Linked DNA regions of Homo sapiens: region 1 is linked to region 2. The links are contacts of gene promoters, found by promoter capture Hi-C in blood cells and fetal thymus (Javierre and others, 2016). All regions are on one chromosome and are shown on one strand. Each heading gives the region's core, a stretch centred on a gene start or on the middle of the fragment in contact. The rest is flanking DNA. Distances are from core to core; before and after follow the strand shown. Region 1 overlaps PPM1G (protein phosphatase, Mg2+/Mn2+ dependent 1G). Region 2 holds the start of SUPT7L (SPT7 like, STAGA complex subunit gamma).

The links. The method cuts DNA at HindIII sites, captures the fragments that hold promoters and counts their contacts. A CHiCAGO score of 5 or more calls a contact.
Region 1: a contact is called between a fragment that was not itself captured here and the fragment with the promoter of SUPT7L in region 2, in 3 of 17 cell types (megakaryocytes, erythroblasts and endothelial precursors). The highest score is 9.4, in megakaryocytes.

What each region holds. Positions count from the first base shown.
Region 1 is chr2:27,404,742-27,407,451 of GRCh38, reverse strand. The region is part of intron 1 of PPM1G (protein phosphatase, Mg2+/Mn2+ dependent 1G); the gene reads left to right. Among named protein-coding and RNA genes, the nearest start is that of PPM1G, 3.5 kb to the left of the region's middle. The HindIII fragment of the contact is 200 bases long and covers 1,193-1,392 here.
Region 2 is chr2:27,662,004-27,665,088 of GRCh38, reverse strand. It overlaps SUPT7L (SPT7 like, STAGA complex subunit gamma), which reads left to right and starts at 1,475. Exons shown (of 6, transcript NM_014860.3): 1 at 1,475-1,760; 2 at 2,808-2,910. The coding sequence starts at 2,897. It overlaps SLC4A1AP (solute carrier family 4 member 1 adaptor protein), which reads right to left and starts at 1,200. Exons shown (of 14, transcript NM_018158.3): 1 at 512-1,200. The coding sequence starts at 1,174. The HindIII fragment of the contact is 6,150 bases long and covers 450-3,085 here.

The sequences.
Region 1 (2,710 bases), core at 43-2,542, 260 kb after region 2:
TCTACAAAAAATACAAAAAAATTAGCTGGGCATGGTGGCACCCACCTGTAGTCCCAGTTACTTGGGAGGCTGAGATAGAAAATCACTTTGAGCCTGAGAGGCAGAGCCTTCATTGAGCCAAGATCGCCCCTCTGCACTCCAATCTGGGTGACAGAGCGAGACGCTGTCTCAAAAAATAAATGAATAGGCCAGGCATGGTGGCTCATGCCTGTAATCCTAACACTTTGGGAGGCTGCGGCGGGCGGATTGCCTGAGCTTAGGAGTTCGAGACCAGCCTGGACAACATGAAGAAACCCCGTCTTTATTAAAATACAAAAAATTAGCTGAATGTGGTGGTGCGTGCCTATAATCATAGCTACTTGGAAGGCTGAGGCAGGAGAATCGCTTGAATCCCAGAGGCGGAGGTTGCAGTGAGCCAAGATCGTGCCACTGTACTCCAGCCTGGGCGACAGAGTGAGACACTGTCTCAAAAAAAAAAAAAAAAAGAATAAATAAATAAATCTGGGTATAGTTTCGTAGGAAAGTCTTTTTGTAAAGTAGGTAGTCAAGAAGTTCCATTTCCATGGCATTTTCTGTTAACGTTGTGAGATTTGAGGTGAATATTCCATCTCGCAGTAAAACGTTTCTTCCAGGTTTCTCATTTAATATTTTTCACTTCTCTGCTGTTGTTTTTTCATTTCTTTGGTACCCTTCTTTCTACTTTTACTTACGGATTGAGTTGCTTGGCTACTCAGTGTTTCACGTTGGTTTGCCCAGTGATTCCATACTATTTGCTGCTTCTCTGTAGGGCATTTCCCTTTATTTTTGGTTTCTCCTCAATTAGAAAATGATTTTTTTTGTCAGGGACGGTTTAGTGTGTAGAGATCTTACTAGACTATTCCTTACATCCTAATCTTCCTCCTGAGAGATAACTGCTTAGGGTATTAAAATCTTGCTAATGTGCTGTTTCTGAAGTTGCCCTTGTTTGAATAAATATGCCTAATCAATAGTTAAATATGCCTAATCAAATCCTCTTGAAGAGTATTGTTTGGGATCCTATTCTGCTTCATTGATAGTGTTCCTTCTGGCTTTTTTTCTCTTCAAAGTGTAGCATAGTTTCTTTGCTATTGCAAGAAAATAACTATGAGTTCTAGCCTCTTCCCTGAATCTTATCTTTCCAGAAAATATAAAGTACTCCCATTCCTCTGAAGCTTTAGGGCTTAATCCAAAAATTAATAAAGTTTATTTACCCTATTTGCTTGGTCCTAATGCTTCATTTGAGGTAAGGTTATCATACCACTAAAGGTTGTTGACATGCTGACTGATGGATAGATTTAGCCGTAGAGAGGACTCTTGAGACAAAAATGGCAATCATCAATAGCTGGCATTTTTACTTTCTGCCTGTTTCAAGCTTCTCTTCCTGTGTGACCAGGGTGTTGTTGTTGTTTGTTTTGTTTTGTTTTGTTTTTGAGACGGAGTTTCTATCTTGTTGCCCAGGCTGGAGTACAATGGCATGATCTCGGCTCACTGCAACCTCCGCCTCCCGGGTTCAAGCGATTCTCCTGCCTCAGCCTCCTGAGTAGCTGGGATTACAGGCATGTGCCACCACGCCTGGCTAATTTTGTATTTTTAGTAGAGATGGGGGTCTCTCCATGTTGGTCAGGCTGGTCTCGAACTTCTGACCTCAGGTGATCGGCCCGCCTCTGCCTCCCAAAATGCTGTGAGCCACCATGCCCAGCAACCAGGGTGTTTTGAGAAAAGGTAATCAAAATACCACAGGCCAGTCGTGGTGGCTTAACGCCTGTAATCCCAGCAGTTTGGGAGGCCGAGGGGGGCAGATCACCTGAGGTCAGTTCGAGACCAGCCTAGTCAACATGGTGAAACCCCGTCTCTACTGAAAATACAAAAATTAGCCAGAGGCCAGAGAATTGCTTGAATAGGAAGGCCAGTGAGCCGAGATCTCACCGCTGCACTCTAGCCAGGGTGACAGACTCCGTCTCAAAAAAACAAACAAAAAAACCACCACAGTTGATGTTCTCCTCCTTCCTCCTTTCTCCATGAAAAAAGTGGATGAGGTATGTACTTTGGGATTAAGAGGTAGGCACTGGGCACGGTGGCTCATGCCTGTAATCCCAGCACTTTGGGAGGCCGAGGTGGGCGGATCACGAGATCAAGAGACCGAGATCATTCTGGCCAATATGGTGAAACCCTGTCTCTTCTAAAATACAAGAATTAGCTGGGCATGGTGGCGCACGCCTGTAGTCCCAGCTACTCCGGAGGCTGAGGCAGGAGAATCGCTTGAACCTGGGAGGCGGAGGTTGCAGTGAGCCGAGATCGCACCACTGCACTCCAGCCTGGGCGACAGGGTGAGACTCCATCTTAAAAAAAAAAAAAAAAAAATGAGGTAGGTTGTGGAGGGGTGCCTGAAAAATTATAAGGTAAGGCCCTTGAGTTTTTGTTGGCTAAATAAGAAGTCAAATCTGAAAATAGATTCAGTTGATGTAGTCTTTTTTTTTTTTTTTTTTCTCCGAGACGGAGTCTTGCACTGTTGCCCAGGCTGGAGTATAATGGCATGATCTTGGCTCACTGCAACCTCTGCCTCCTGAGTTCAAGCGATTCTCCTGCCTCAGCTTCCCGAGTAGCTGGGATTACAGGCGCCTGCCACCATGCCCGGCTAATTTTTTGTATTTTCAATAGAGACAGGGTTTCACTATGTTGGCCGGGTTGGTCT
Region 2 (3,085 bases), core at 226-2,725:
AGGAAAAAAAGGTTATTTATTTATTTAGAGACAGGGTCTTGCTCTGTCGCCTAGGCTGGACTGGAGTGCAGTGGCTGTAATACACCTCACTGCAGCCTTGACCTCCTGGGCTCAGGTGATCCTCCCACCTCAGCCTCCTGAGCAGCTGGGACCATGATGCCTGGCTAATTTTTTTTTTTTTTTTTAAGAGACAGGGTCTTGCCATGTTGCCCAGCCTCCTCTCAAACTCCTGGGCTAAAGCGATCCTCCCGCCTGGGCCTCCCAAAGTGTTGGGATTACAGGCGCGAGCCACCGCGCCTGGCCAAACAAGTTATTTTAGAGTTCGGGATTGTGAACATGACTTTCAGAAATATAGCAATGTGTACAGCCGTCTGAAGATGATAGGCCAGACTTGATTCCTTCACTTTCGTAATCGCTGAGTGGGAGATTCTTCTTCCTCATCCAAAGCTTAAGAAGCACAAGAACGCAGTCCAATGAACCCGAAATTTCAATTCTAGGTTTTTCTACCTACCTGCAGGATAAAGAGCCGGGTGCTGCCTCCAAAGCGAACAACATGCCCAACGTGGACTCGACAGTAGGTGCGAGGTGGGATGCGAGTTTTGTTGAGAAAAGTGCCATGGGTGCTTCCCAGATCGTAGAGGTAGAAGCCCGGCCCGTTGCTGTCGCATTCTCCGTCAGGGCCGGACGCCCTGTGCTGCAGCACTGCGTGGTACCGAGACACCGAAGGGTGCTCCAGGCACACGTCGCAGCCAGACAGCCTCCCGAAAAGGCAGTAACTCGTCCCTTTCAAGCTACGGGTGCCAAGGATAGTGCCGCCCTTCAGGGTCTCTAAGCTGTAGGGGGCTGTGGCAGGGCCACCCCATGGAGGCTCTTGGTAGGGGGGAGCCCGGGCTGGACCGCCAGGGGAAGAAACCGCTGTCGGGGGGCGCGACTGCTCCTCCTGTAGACTCCTAAAATCACCGCAGTCCGGCTGAGGAGGAGGGATGTCGGGCTCCCCAGAATTGGAGTCCTGCAACGCAGTGGGCCCTTCCTTCTGTACCTCCTCAGGGTTTGAAGAACTGCTGGCCGGGGCCTTACTCCGCGCCGCTGGGGACACCGGCAGAGCTGGCTTCTTGAAGTCCCCACTGAGGTCTTGCGACGCCAGGGTCTCTGACTGAGAGAGAATGTCAGCCATCCTCAACCGGTGCAACTTCGAAATCCGCTCCTTCGAAACCCACCCTTCGGTCTTTACGTTCCTGTCCACGTCCCACTCTCCCAAGCTCCCAGTGGCGTCTGTAGGCGGCGATGGTGAAGTTGCTCCTTCACGACCTGGAGCGTTGCGAAGTGGTGCTAACATGAGAAGGTCATAATATGAGAAAAACAAAACGGTTATCGGGATGCTGTGCAGAACGGGGACATATTTAGAGGTTACAACGGGATCGTAATGACTTCCTGTTGCATAGCTTGATTGAGAAGAAGCGCTTCCGGCGGTCTTAGATCACTAATCAACAAACCAGCTTTCGGGGTCTGACGCGATCCTTGCCTCAGGCCTCTCGAGGTCCAGACAGCCGCCCAGCCCGCTCTGCGACGCAGCAGTGAATAGTGTGGTACCTCCTTGTCTCGGTTCAGGTCCAGACCTCCCCGTCTTCCGGCTGCCCTGAACGTCAGGCGACCTCAGGACCCTGTGATTGGCGCCTGCGCCGGCGGACCGTGACCGAGGAAACCCCTGGAGGGACTTGGGCATTCCTTGGGCTCCGTGCCTGTTCTTCGTGCTCCTTTCGGTAAAGTAAGGGAAGAGGGCGACTTTTTTGTTATTTCGTTCATTCATTTATTTTTTTTCTGAAATTATTAAGGCAGAATAGTTAAGTGGTTAAGAGAGCAGACTCTGGAGACTGTCGATTTTTGACCTCGCCATTTGTGACATTGGGCAAGACACTAGGCCTCAGCCCTCACTCTGAAAAATGGGGATAAGATTATTAGCCTCATAGGGTTGTTGGAAGAATTGAATCAAACAATAAAGGCCAGCCAGACCGGTGGCTCATGCCTGTAATCCCAACATTTTGGGAGGCTGAGGCGGGAGGATTGCTTGAGCCCAGGAGTTCCAGAGGAGGCTGGGCAACATGGCGAGACCCTGTCTCGCCAAAAAAAAAAAAAAAAAAGAAAAAATCCAGGTTTGATGGTGCGCGCCTGTAGTCCCAGCTACTCCAGAGGCTGAGGTGGGAGGATTGCTTGGTCCCAGGAGGTTGAGGCTGCAGTGAACCATGACTGCACCACTGCACTCCAGCCTGGGCTACAGAGTGAAACCCTGTCTCAAAAAAGAAACAAACAAAAAAGGTGAAGTCTGGCATATAGTAAACATTCAACAAATGCCAGATATTTCTGTGTGCCTGGCCCTGTAACAAGACCACAGCCATAAGAAATAGACGGGCAGAAAAAATCTATTGCGATAAGTACTAATTAAAATCCAAGGATAACTGCTGTGACATAGACTTGCAAAGCACTGTGAGAATAGAGAAAGGGAGATGCACTGGTGAAGTGACGGACGGTGGGGACTTATGCTGTACTTAAAAATGAATATGAGTCTGCCAGGGATGTGCAAGGTTGGCAGAGCATTTCTGGCAGAGTTCACAGCTGAAAGTGTCAATTGTGGAAATGTACAGCATTCTCAAGAAACTGAGTAGTATAATGTTGTTAGAACAAAGGTAGTCATTTCACCCAGGAAGCTCCTCCTTTGTGCTTCCAGTACCCCAGGTCCATATACCTCTAGAACAGTACTTACCATGTTTCATATTGAAATATTCTGCTTCTGTTTCTCTTCCTCACTTCAGGGCAAGGATCTCACATTATCAGTCTTTGACCGACACAGAATGCCTGGCATTTGATAAATGTTTGTTGAACTTGAAGAGACATATGGACAATGAATCTGCAAAGGTGAGTTGAAACCAGATTGTGAATTTTGTTGAATGGTAAGCCAAGGAATTCTGACTTTTTCCAATAGGCAATGGGAAGCCATTTGATTTAAGTTTTAAAAAGAGTAAGTCTAGCAGCAGTGTAGAGAATAGATGACATACAAAGAGAGATTGGAGGAAGGGATACCAGTTAGAAG